Regions from separate parts of the Homo sapiens genome. Here regions 1, 2 and 4 are each linked to region 3. Evidence: promoter capture Hi-C in 16 types of primary human blood cells and fetal thymus (Javierre and others, 2016). All regions are on one chromosome and are shown on one strand. The core of a region is centred on a gene start or on the middle of the fragment in contact, and the rest is flanking DNA. Distances in the headings are between cores, read along the strand shown.

Region 1 (3,334 bases), core at 468-2,967, 190 kb after region 3:
TGTAGTTTTCCTTCAAACCCCTTATCTGACTTTATGCAGAACAGAAATTTCCTGAAGATAGGTATTTTGTCCGTTGTTCATCACTGAATTGCTAGCTCTTAGAATGGTGTCAGGTGTAATAGGCACCTAATCAATACTTGTCAAATGAAGGAATAAAGTTTCCTCAAGTAAAAGGAAAAAGAAACTAATATATACTGAATACTCATAATGAGCCAAACGTTATTCTAGGCATTTGATATATGTTGTTCACATTTAATCTTCTTAATAAACTTATGAGAATAGATATTATCCCCATTGATCAACAAAGAAACAGAGACTTTAAAAAAAAATAAATAATTTGGCATCGCTAGGATTTGAAATCTGGTCTGTAGTACTTGATTCCAAAGCAAAGGCTTTCTCTACCGTGTTATTTTAAAATTATTAAATCTTCTATATACTACAGAGAATACAAAGGTAAACAATAAATGGTTATTTAAGTATATAAATTAGTATATAGGCTGGGCATGGTGGCTCACTCCTGTAATCCCAGCACTTTGGGAGGCCGAGGAGGGCAGATCACCTGAGGTCAGGAGTTCCAGACCAGCCTGGCCAACATGATGAAACCCCGTCTCTACTAAAAATACAAAAAATTAGCTGGGTGTGGCGTCACGCATCTGTAATCCCAGCCACTCAGGAGGCTGAGGCAGGAGAATCGCTTGAACGCGGGAGGCAGAGGTTGCAGTGAGCCAAGATGACACCACTGCACTCCAGTCTGAGCGACAGAGCAAGACTCCATCTCAAAAAAAAAAAACAAAAGTTTGTATGTAATTAAATTCCAAATGAGCAGTACTGTCAATAAATTTTATAGTTATTTGGAAAATCATTAGACCAAATGGAAGTGTTTCTCATACAGTGGGCTTAAAACGAAATATGTTGATTCAGTGAATTTATGAACAGGTAAGGATCCAGGATCTGTCTCTTAAATAGTAAGTAGAATTTGAATTAGTGGAGAGAAAGAACAAGGCCATTTTAAGTAGAGGGAACAACATAAGTAAATGTGAAAAACAAACTTATTAAAAGGATAATAAAATTCATCACGAGTCAAGAGTTAATATTTTAGGGGTGCTGCGAGATAAGTTTGGGAAAAGTGAGTTGGTGATTAGATTATGAAGAATTTGAATTGTGAGGCTAAGGTATCTAAAGTATTTGAACATTATAATTACTGGCGAGCCATAGAATAATGATATTGAACATTTGTGTGGACATAATGGGCAATAGAATGTAGTGCTTAAGAGTATGAACTTTGGAGCAAAACTGGGTTCAAATTCTAGCTTAGGTCAGTAACTAAGCAAATGACAACCTCTCTGTGCTCTAGTTTCCTAATCAAATGGAGATAATGGTTTTTAACTCAAAGAGCCATTGTGATGGTTAAATGAATTACCAATTATTCTATGTAAAAATACTGAGAACAGTGCTTAGCACATAGTAAGCATTCCGTAAATATTAACTGTTGTCATTTATATGACATTTAAATTTTCACACTACTTTCATGTGTACTGTTCCTTCTCATTTTCATGGCAACTCTGTGAGGTAGATATTACTATATCCAGTTTAATAATGGAGTAAATGAAGCCAAAGAGAGGTTTTGTCATGCCGGATCCCCAAATGACAGAACTGATCACATGATTCTAAGCCACTTCACCATGATTCTTTGTAATCTAAAAAACTAATAGAACAATGGGATGACATGCTGAAAGTCAAGTTTTGGGAAATTATTCTAGTGACATTCTGCAGAGTAAAATGAAGACGAGAAAGAACCCACAGGCGACTTTTTAAGGCTCTTAAAATAATCTAGGTTTGGCCAGGCGGGGTGGTTCATGCCTGTAATCCCAACACTTTGGGAGGCCAAGGTGGGTGGATCACGAGGTCAGGAGATGAAGACAATCCTGGCCAACATGGTGAAACCCTGTCTGTACTAAAAATACAACAATTAGCTGGGCGTGGTGGTGCGTGCCTGTAATCCCAGTTACTCGGGAGACTGAGGCAGGAGAATCGCTTGAACCAGGGAGTCGGAGGTTGCAGTGAGCCGAGATCACGCCATTGCACTCCAGCCTGGCAACAGGGTGAGACTGTCTCAAAAAAATAAATAGGTAGATAGATAGATAGATAGATGATAGATAATCTAGGTTTAGGTTTTATTTATGAAAAATTTCTATGCCAGGGCTATATCATTGAGAATGAAGACAAAAGATTATTAATTCAAGGGAAGTTATGAATTTTATAACTGACCAATATCTTAATATTCTTTCAGCTGTATTTAAACTTGAAACAGATAGAAGTATATGGCCCTTGATAAGAATCTATCGGGGTGGCTTTCTTCTGATTGAATTCCTTTTTCTACTGGGCATCAACACGTATGGTTGGAGACAGGCTGGAGTAAACCATGTACTCATCTTTGAACTTAATCCGAGAAGCAATTTGTCTCATCAACATCTCTTTGAGGTAATCAAAGCAAGACATAACACCTCATGAATATAGTTTGCATTAGCTATATAGCTATCTGGTTTAGTGGGTACTTAAATCCATCCTCTACTTGAAGAGGATTATTAGCTTAATAACTAATCATGTTTCTTACTTTTGTTTTATTAAAGATATTTTAAGTAATGGTAAAAGTAAAAATAACAATTTTTCTCTATCTTTCTGTCTTCCCCATCCTTTACTAGATTGCTGGATTCCTCGGGATATTGTGGTGCCTGAGCCTTCTGGCATGCTTCTTTGCTCCAATTAGTGTCATCCCCACATATGTGTATCCACTTGCCCTTTATGGATTTATGGTTTTCTTCCTTATCAACCCCACCAAAACTTTCTACTATAAATCCCGGTTTTGGCTGCTTAAACTGCTGGTAAGTCCAGAAACTTGTGTACCACTTTTAGAGTGGCATATTGGTTATTGACTTCCTCTAAGATAAAACCAAGGCTGCTAGGTTGTACAACTGCAGAGGCCGTGGTTCACATTATAGTTTATGTGAGTGGAGGCCCTGGGAAAAAGTACTCACGTATATTTTCCTCCTGAGATCGAGTATCAGGTGGCCAAATATTGAGATGATTTTGTAAATTATAAACATTTTTTACTTCGTTTAACTAGCTGTGATAAGATGTAGAACTTTGTAAGTTTCCTTCCCCCAAAAAAATGTGGTAAAAGAATTATTTTCCTGTTAAGTTGATGTGAGTATCAACCGAACATTTTATTTTAGGAAAGATTTGTTCTCTAAAAGCAGTAGGAATATCTTACCAGATTATCAAGTTTAATTTGAAAAATTGACTTTGGGCTGGGCGCGGTGGCTCACGCCTGTAA
Region 2 (3,058 bases), core at 259-2,758, 210 kb after region 3:
GGGTTTGGGTCTATTTCATGTGTGTTCATTCTGGCGCTTCAATTGAAAGAGCAGCCACTTAGCCAGGGGAAACTTCACATGGCACTGACAGAAACAAGACCTATTACACAAATTTTAAGCCTCTGCTTGCTTCATATCTGCTATCCTCCAAAGGCCATTGCAACTGCTAGGCCAAAGCAAGTCACCAAACCCTACATTAATGGGGCAAGAAAGTATACTTCTGCCATGGAAACAGGGATGGGCTGAAAGGGAGAGAAGAGTTTTAAAATGTAATCTAATCTACTGTGATACAGAAAACAATTTAAACTGATTTGTCTAAAGTGGCAAAGGACTTAAAACAGTTAATTTTGTAGAATAAACATAACTAATAAACATGAAAAATTTTCCACTTTGGTAATAAAAACAGAAATATAAATTAAAATAATATTTAATCAAAGAAGTGATGATGCCTATCACTGGCAAGGGTACGGAGAGATGAAAACTCATTCTGTTGGTAGAGTATAAATTTGTAAGCAATTTGGGAATTCTCTCGAATCTTAAAATCATTCATACCTTTTGACCTAGTAAGTACCTTTCCACAACTTTTTCCTAAATAGAGAATTGGGCAAAAATGAATGTATCTTTGTAACATTATATAGTAAAAAACTGAAATAATCTAACAAATGTTCAGCAATAGGAGAATAGCTTACTTACAGTAACTGCATAGTATATGAAATATTATACAGTGGCTTGTTAAAAGTCACACAGTGGACCTGCAAATAGTAGATGAAGAATAATGACTGTGTGTGTGTGTGTCTGTTTTCACAGATGGTCTTGCTCTGTCACCCAGGCTGGAGTGCAGTGAGTAGCTTGGTCATATCTCACTGTAGCCTCAAACTCCTAGGCTCATGGGATCCTCCCACCTCAGCCTCCTGAGTAGCTGGGACTACAGGGTCGTGCTACCATGCCCAGCTAATTTTTATTATTGTTTTTAGATACAGGGTCTCACTACTGTTGCCCAGGCTAGTCTCAAACTCAGTCTTCCAAAGCTGACCTGAGCCTGCTGACACACTTAAATTAAGAGCAATGTGGACTCGGCCAAAATACGAAAATAATTTCTCTCTGCCAGAAAATCGAAAGTCATTCTTGAATTGGAGGGAAACAAAACTAACATATTAATGTTGTTTCAAGTGATGGCAGAATCATTTGACATGATTAATTTGCTTAGTGTTGTATCCTTTTTTAGGTCTTAAGAAATATCAAGGGGGCTGGGCACGGTGGCTCACGCCTGTAATCCTAGCACTTTGGGAGGCCAAGGCAGGCAGATTACCTGAGGTTGGGAGTTCAAGACCAGCCTAGCCAACATGGCAAAACCCTGTCTCTACTAAAAATTATAAAAAATTAGCCAGGTGGAGTGGCATGCACCTGTAATTCCAGCTACTCGGGAGGCCAAGGCAGGAGAATCGCTTGAACCCAGGAGGCGGAGGTTGCAGTGAGCTGAGATCACGCCACTGCGCTCTAGCCTGGGCTACAGAGTGAGACTTCATCTCAAAAAAAAAAAAAAAATGTCAAGGGTAGTTAGGGTAATTTGTTAAAGCTGGCTAGCAATTTTCTCAATTTATATTGTTAATAAATAAGGAATGTTGTGAGCATGCTTTTTAGAATGTAATGAACGAAAGACCAGTGGGCTAATGTTGAATTTCTTGTTTGTTTGTTTTTGTTTTTGTTTATTTATTTATTTTTTTTTTGAGATGGAATCTGGCTGTGTCACCCATCCTGGAGTGCAGTGGCACGATCTCAGCTCACTGCAACCTCTGCCTCCCAGGTTCAAGCAATTCTCCTGCCTCAGCCTCCTGAGTAGCTGGGATTACACACGCCCACCACCACACCCAGCTAATTTTTGTATTATTAGTAGAGATGGGGTTTGACCATGTTGGCCATGCTGGTCTCAAACTCCTGACCTTACCTCAGGTGACCTGCCTGCCTCGGGCTCCCAAAGTGTTGGGATTACAGGTGTGAGCCACGGTGCCTGGCTAATACTTAATTTCATTGATACTTTGGATAGGTATAAGATACGGTTTTCATGAAAATATTCAGAGTGAAGAAACTTTTCGTACACTACACACAATATTTTCTTCACATAGTAAAAAAAAAAAAAAATGATGCCACTTAATAGGAAGGAAAATAAAACATCTACCTAAATATCTCATTGATAAGTAGCATTTGTATTTCTACTTGTTCCTCTCCTGTGGGCTCCTCAGGCCTCTCTCTAAATACTTTTTAGTTGCTTCTGAATAATACCCCAGAACATCTTTCTTTTAAAGGTAGAATTGTACTACTTGTAACTATTTTATCCTTACCAGGAATCTTCTCAAACGAAGTAAATATCTCCCAAAGTAGAATGTTGAAGTCTACACAACACATTTCATAGCTGGTATAGAAAAGACTGAATCACTGAAGAAAATTAGGCAGAAACTCTAAGATCTGTTATATAGTCTTCTCACTTATGAATATTAGACTAATTCTGTTTCCTTTCTCAACTGAAAAAGTTGATATTTGAAATTAATTTTTAAATCTGTCATTAAACTTTCTATTGCAGAAAGTAGTATTTCTTACCTAAAGAGCAAAATACTTAGCTCTTCTCAATTTAATCAACCCTTCTTCCAGTAAGAATTTTAAAAGCACCATCTTAGTGAAAGGCACGTTTTCACATTGAGAACTAGAATGTGGGCTTTGGAGTTAGGACTAGGTTAATTTAGCCACTTACTAATTATGTTACCCTGAGAAAGTGACTAGATTTCTTTGATTTAAAATTAGTAAAATTGAGAGAATAATTCCCACCTCATAAGTTTATTATAAAGATTAAGTTGTGTAAATACACTATAACTGGTGTTAATTGGTATTGATATCCTCTCCACCATCTGTGATGAAAGCGTGAAAAAACTCACATGCAAAATATTAGGGAAGGGATTTTCATTATAGATGTGGAAGAATTTAAAATAATTATGAGTAAATGTCTAGATAAAATGGACCATTTATTTTTAGGAAATTAGAAATTAACAAGATAAATGCAAGAAGG
Region 3 (3,207 bases), core at 38-2,537:
GAGAATGATATCTCAGAGCACTGCTCCAGGCATAGCAGTTCCCTAGTAAATCTTGAAATCTCATCAAAATTGTGAGGGTTAGGCTGAGCAAGGTGGCTCATGCCTGTAATTCCAGCACTTTAGGAGGCCTAGGTGGGAGGACTGTTTTAGCTCAGGAGCTCAAGACCAGCCTGGGCAACATAGCAAGACCCACATCTCTCCCAAAAATAAACAAAAAAATTAGTTTGGCATAATGGCATGTGCCTGTAGTCCCAGCTACTCAGGGGGCTGAGGTGGGAGGATGGCTCACAAACCTATGTGAGGTAAGGCTGCAGTGAACCATGATGGTGTGACTGCACTCCAGCCTGGGCAACAAAGCGAGACCAAAAAAAAAAATGTTAGAATCAAGGGACAAAGTACATGTAAGAGGTTTAGAATAGCACTTGGTACAGGAACAGTGAGTGCTCAATAAATTATTATTAGGTCTCCTCCACCCAGGGTAGGACCTGGGTTTCTGTCCTGAATTGGGACTTCCAAGACAATCACTCCCACACTCAATGTAGTACAGAGCTCTGTGAGTGATCTCTGCCCATGTTCCCCAGGGACACTTCAGCCTGGGTGCTGGGCCTGTTTCCGGTTTTACTGGGGTGGGCTTAGAGCTGTACTTCTACGGGGTTCTCTTTCCTCTCAACGTTGGTTTCCCTCCCAACCCTCACCCCCAACCCCAGGAAGCTCAGTTTACAAGTGCGGTCGGTACCCTCATTTGGTGTTTTTATTGGCTTTTCTGATAGCCCCTGGACTAGACAATTACATTGAAATTCAGAAGCAGCATGCACTTTTTGGCATTGATGTCTTTAATTAAATTCAATAAGCACTTATTGAGCACCTAGAGTGTGTAAAATACTGTTCCTTTAAATACATTTAGTCCTGAACTGTTTTAGCTTCTTAGTTTGGATTAGTGCTGATCCATTTCTTAAAGGTTTTATGAAGCATAAATATCAAAATGGAAAAATATTTGCACAGTTCTTTGTAAATATAAACGTCTTGTGTGGATTATTGTTGCTACAGTATTAATATTAACTGCAGTAACAACACTGCTGCTTCCCAGACAGGCGGTAGAAAGCAGCTGTAGGCCAACAGGAGCCAGACTGAAGAGATCCAGGGAGGTGCCTCCAGCACGTACGGCCCACAAGGGGCGGAGTCTTAAGAAGCGTACCCAAGCCCCACCCCTTACAGCACCCCCTTCGTCAGGGCGGTGTAGGCGGTTACCATGGCGATGACGTCCAGAGGGCGGGGAGGGGCGGGGCTATGGAGAGGAGGAGGAAGATGGCGGGCGGGCTGCTCTGAAGAGACCTCGGCGGCGGCGGAGGAGGAGAGAAGCGCAGCGCCGCGCCGCGCCGGGGCCCATGTGGGGAGGAGTCGGAGTCGCTGTTGCCGCCGCCGCCTGTAGCTGCTGGACCCGAGTGGGAGTGAGGGGGAAACGGCAGGATGAAGTTCGCCGAGCACCTCTCCGCGCACATCACTCCCGAGTGGAGGAAGCAATACATCCAGTATGAGGTACCGGCACGGCTGGGGTGTGGGAGGACTCGGAGGGGCCACCATCTCGCCAGTCCTGACGTCCACCGCCGCCTTCCGCTTCAGCTGGCTCCCTGTGCCCGGGCAGACTTTGACCCGCTGCCGCGGGGAGCCACTGCGGCATCCCCGCCGCGGCCGGCCGCCTCCCGGCTCCGCTGTCCTTCCCCTCCCCCGCAGCCCCGCTGCCGCCGGGGTAACGGATATGCAGGCGGAGGGCCGGGAGGAAAGGCGCTGCCCGGGCCGGGGCCGGGGCCGGGGAACGGTGGGAGGGTGAGCTGCAGGTGGGGGAGTCACGGTGCGAGGGCAGCCCCGGGTCGCGGCTGTTCCGCGCTAATCCCCTTCTCCCCACTCGCCCTGACCTCTCGTCCCCACCCTGGGCGAGCGCCCCCTCGCCAAGGTTAGGTCTTGTTTCTCTCTCTACACCTCTCACCAAGGAATCCTTGTCTTCCAAGAGAAGCCCCTCCAGTGATTTCCTTCATTCCAAAGAGCCCTTCGGCTTTTTCCCACTTGCCCACTGTTGACAAAGGCTTTGTAACGGGGTTGAAACTTGACTTAAGTGTGTATCACATATGTAGTGGTTATAGTTTTTGTAAACACGTTGTAATCAACTATTCTGCTTTGATAATAAGACTCTTTTTACTGATTGCATGAAGTCTACAGAGTAATAACATCTTTGTTTTTGCCTCTTGTTTTGGAATGGAGGGAAGAGAAAGGAGAGAAGAGAATTATTAACATTTTTTTATTTTCTGCTAAGTTTTTGCTAGCTGGGGAGAAAATTAGTATATTGTAAACAATATACCTTACCTGTGTATTACAGAAATCATGCTCCCCATTCCCTCCCAATTTCTGTGCTAACACTGCTGGAAGGTATTTAATAGATAATAAGGAACCTTACATTAATAAAGGGAAAAATAAAGATAATGAACCCATTTATATGTTCAGAAGACAAGATACCTAAGAGGCTTTAAGCATTGCAATAGGTTATTCTCAGTAGCTGGCAATTCAGCTCCTGGATAGAGAAAGACAGACTTATCTGTAACCTCCAGGAATTCACATCTGTTTTGTGTGCAGGAACAAAGAATATAAAATCAATATGAACACACATAACTTAGCTAGATTTTATGAATTAAACTATTTTAGTTCTCCATTTAATTTTTATATAAGTTTAGTGATAGGAGGTTTGGGCAATAGCAGTGAGTGTATTTATTCATATAGCCATTGTAATAATTGAAGAAGACAGGGAAAGAGATGCAGGTAGGTTAAACGGAATCTTGAATATTGTGAAATAAATTCACTTGCAACCTAGAGTATTTCATTATTGCTAGAAATGAAAGGCCTATAATTATTAATGCTTTATTGTCACTCAATTTCTTACAGTATTTTGTGGCCATGTTTTGTAAGAATGAGTGAAATAAGGGACTAACATTTCAGCCTGCAGAGTTGATTTATTGTTTCTAATAACATTTAGTTTTAAAACCTTGGCTAGAATCCAAGTGATGGTTTTTATTGAAAGAAGGGTATTGGTCTTTCATCTTTCTAGTAGTAATTTTCAGCACCACTGCCAGTTCTTCACAGAGGCACAGGATAGGAGCATGCTGAAGCACATCTTATATTTGTTATGTAGCATGGAATGCTTTGGGCAGAAGTAATAGT
Region 4 (3,305 bases), core at 69-2,568, 140 kb after region 3:
TGTCTTTCCTATCTTTTTTTTTTTTTTTTTTTTTTTGAGATGGAAGTCTTGGTCTGTCGCCCAGGCTGGAGTGCAGTGGCGTGATCTCGGCTCACTGCAAGCTCCGCCTCCCGGGTTCATGCCATTCTCCTGCCTCAGCCTCCCTAGTAGCTGGGACTACAGGCACCCGCCACCATGCCCAGCTAATTTTTTTGTTTGTTTGTTTTTTTGTATATTTAGTAGAGATGGGGTTTCACCGTGTTAGCCAGGGTAGTCTCAATCTCCTGACCTCGTGATCTGCCTGCCTCGGCCGCCCAAAGTGCTGGGATTACAGGTGTCAGCCACCACGTCTGGCCTGTCTTTCCTATCTTTTTATATCTGACCAATATTGATGTTCATCATAAATGTGTTTTCTCTTTAGCTATATGTCTTAGTCCATCCTTTCTGCTATAACAAAATACTTTAGTCTGGGTAATATATAAATAATAGAAATTTATTTCTCATAGTTCTGGAGGCTGGGAAGTCCAGGATCAAGGCACCAACAGACGTAGTGCCTGATAAAGGCTTGCCTTCTGCTTCCAAGATGGCATCTTGTTGTTGTGTCCTCTGGAGGGGTCCAACACTATGTCCTTACATGGCAGAAAGGATGAAAGGGACTAGGGAGATTTCTTCAGCCTCTTTTATAACGTCACTAATCCCATTCACCTAAACACCTCTTAAAGCCCCACCTCTAAATACTATGGCATGGGTGATTAAGCTTTATCATGAATTTGGGGGGACACATTCAAACCACAACATTACATATATGCTTGGCAGTTTGGAGAGAAATGAGATGGTTACCTGCCTATCATTCTTTGAAAGCTTTTTCCCTGGAGTAAGTCACCAGAGTAGTTAAGACTCTTATGGTTCATTGTTTTACTCATCTTTGCAACAGTGAGACTGAGCAGTCAGGGCCGAGCACCATGGCTCCCACCTGTAATCCCAGCACTTTGGGAGGCTGAGGCAGGGGGATCCCTTGAGCCCAGGAGTTTTGAGACCAGACTGGGCAACAAAGCAAGACCCTGTCTCTATATAAAAATGAAAAAAAATTGAAAAAAAGACTGAGAATTCAGTTAAGTTAATAATAGTATTCATCTTGGATTATCCTCAGATATCTTTTGTTTGCTTTGTTTATTGTAACTTCAGTCTTAATAATAATTTTGATCTGTTGCTTTGCAAGAGTGAAAAAGAACTAGGATTACTAATAGTTTAGTTAAAAGTGGATCTAACTAGATAGATTTACTTAACAAAATGACTTTAAATAATGGTATACTTTGTGGTATATAAAGTGATTAATTAGCTAACAGAATTAGAAAATAAAAGGCCTTCAGTTAAAAATACCTAATTCTCTTGAAACTGTCATCTGTATACAAAGTAGTATTTTGTCATATTTGTTAAATGGAGAAGAGTGCTGGAAAAAAAAATCCCCTTTTTATTGTCCTTTAAGAGAATTCATTTCCAGATTTATATCCAGATATATGTGGATATATTCATTTACATATGTACTAATTCCTGAAATTGATTGGTCTGAATAATTAGTCTACAGTCAAGAAGTCCTCTTTCAAATTGCCTTTCCTTGACTTTATAAAAGAAAGGCTTGTCTCTTACGCAATCTAAATTTTGCTGTGATACGTTGTTGCCATTTTGGATCCCAAACAAAGGAATTCTCTGAAATACTCAAATACTCATTGTAGGTATTAAGAAAGTGAGTAACAGGGTAACAAATCCTTTGCAAGTCCAGTTTTTTGTTTTCACTGAAACTGAAAGAAGACTTAATTGTAAGCTTATTTATCATTAAAATTAATTTTCAATAATCACCATGTGGCTTTTGGAAAATACATAGGCATTCAAAGATTGACATTGCTGCAACAAACTTTCATTCTGATCTACTTATTTATGTTAACAATATTTCTTAACATTTATGTCTATAAGATGAAACCAAATACATAAAGTAGTTATTGAATTAATTCAAGTAGTTATTGAATTATTATGGCATTTAATTTCCATTATAATTTTGGAAATTGTATAATTGTATAATTATACAATTGGATTGTATAATGGAATAATTGTATAATGGAAATTATACAATTTCCATTATACAATTAAAACAAAGTCCTTGTATTTTAAAATGTAAATGATTGCAGGGTACCAGAAATTACATTGTTTATAATTATTTAAATGTGTTCAAAATCAGTTATCATGACTTAACAATTGCAAGATAGTTATTCAAAATTATTTTAGAAGTTACAAGGGCAAAAATCATTTGAAAACCACTGTTACATTCCTCCCACTTTACTAATGAATTATGCCCTTGTTTGAATTATTTATTGATATTTCATTTATTGTTGTTCTTTACCTAGCAGACATTAGGTAAATACTCATTGGGATAATAAATAGCTTGGATTGTATTGTATCTAGTGCCAGTGAGATTGATTTTTTTCTCAATTACATGTCACTGTTATAAGTGAAAAGACTTTTTTGTGTGTGTTCTACCAAGAATATTTTAAACACATTTAGTTAAACCTCACCTGATAAAACCTTAAGATAGACTCAGATCAGAAAATCTTGTGTAGGGACTACTTAAGCCTAGTTATATTCAGAATCATTTTGCAGAAATTAGCAGTTTTAGTTAGAAATTTGCAATTAGGAAAAGACTTAGAGATTACCTATTCAAATGCCCTTATTTTTCAAAGTGAAAACAGGCCTAGAGTGTTACTTGCTCAAGCTAATATAGGTAGTTGGCAACAGAACCATATCTAGTCTGCACTAAAACCTACTGATTTTACCTCCAGAATATCTTTTGAATTTTTTCACTTCTCTGTCTCCAGTGCCCTCACCCTAGTTGAGGCTATTGTGATCTCTCCCGTGGTATCTACTGTACTACGTCTCACTGGTCTCCCGACAACCTTATTTAGAAAGCATATTTGATCATACTATTCTCTCTGCTTAAAATCCTTCAAAAATGTCTCATTGGTCTCAGGAAGAAGGCTAGTCCTTTATTCTACCCTTTGTATATTTGTGAGATTATTTGATTAAAGTTTTTTTCCTCAGATAGACTGTAGACTGTAATGTCAAAGGGCAGAATTTATGTTTATTTTGCTTATCGCTGTATCCCTACCCCTGCCACATTGCCTGGTACATAGGAGGGACTTGGTACTTGTTGAATGAATGACTCCTGATTTAGCTCTATTTCTACTACACCAGTGATTTTAGAGTAACATTTTTTATCTTTGAAATCTTTGCCATATGCTTTATATAATTCATCTACCCATCTGTTGATGTAATAG

What was found. Contacts are between HindIII fragments. The CHiCAGO score rates a contact against its expected background, and 5 or more counts as called.
Region 1: a contact is called between a fragment that was not itself captured here and the fragment with the promoter of XPR1 in region 3, in 1 of 17 cell types (erythroblasts). The highest score is 6.0, in erythroblasts.
Region 2: a contact is called between a fragment that was not itself captured here and the fragment with the promoter of XPR1 in region 3, in 6 of 17 cell types (erythroblasts, megakaryocytes, M0 macrophages and 3 more). The highest score is 10.5, in erythroblasts.
Region 4: a fragment that was not itself captured here is called in contact with the fragment with the promoter of XPR1 in region 3 in 2 of 17 cell types (erythroblasts and naive B cells); the score reaches 5.3 in erythroblasts.

The regions. Positions count from the first base shown.
Region 1 is chr1:180,822,463-180,825,796 of GRCh38, forward strand. XPR1 (xenotropic and polytropic retrovirus receptor 1) reads left to right here. Exons shown (of 15, transcript NM_004736.4): 8 at 2,291-2,481; 9 at 2,703-2,882. Among named protein-coding and RNA genes, the nearest start is that of LINC02816, 82 kb to the right of the region's middle. The HindIII fragment of the contact is 4,014 bases long and covers 1-3,334 here.
Region 2 is chr1:180,844,733-180,847,790 of GRCh38, forward strand. The region is part of intron 11 of XPR1 (xenotropic and polytropic retrovirus receptor 1); the gene reads left to right. Among named protein-coding and RNA genes, the nearest start is that of LINC02816, 60 kb to the right of the region's middle. The HindIII fragment of the contact is 8,768 bases long and covers 1-3,058 here.
Region 3 is chr1:180,630,735-180,633,941 of GRCh38, forward strand. XPR1 (xenotropic and polytropic retrovirus receptor 1) reads left to right here and starts at 1,288. Exons shown (of 15, transcript NM_004736.4): 1 at 1,288-1,536. The coding sequence starts at 1,468. RefSeq lists enhancers at 1,152-1,652, 1,653-2,153 and a silencer at 1,648-2,027. The HindIII fragment of the contact is 29,339 bases long and covers 1-3,207 here.
Region 4 is chr1:180,774,372-180,777,676 of GRCh38, forward strand. The region is part of intron 2 of XPR1 (xenotropic and polytropic retrovirus receptor 1); the gene reads left to right. Among named protein-coding and RNA genes, the nearest start is that of LINC02816, 130 kb to the right of the region's middle. The HindIII fragment of the contact is 961 bases long and covers 839-1,799 here.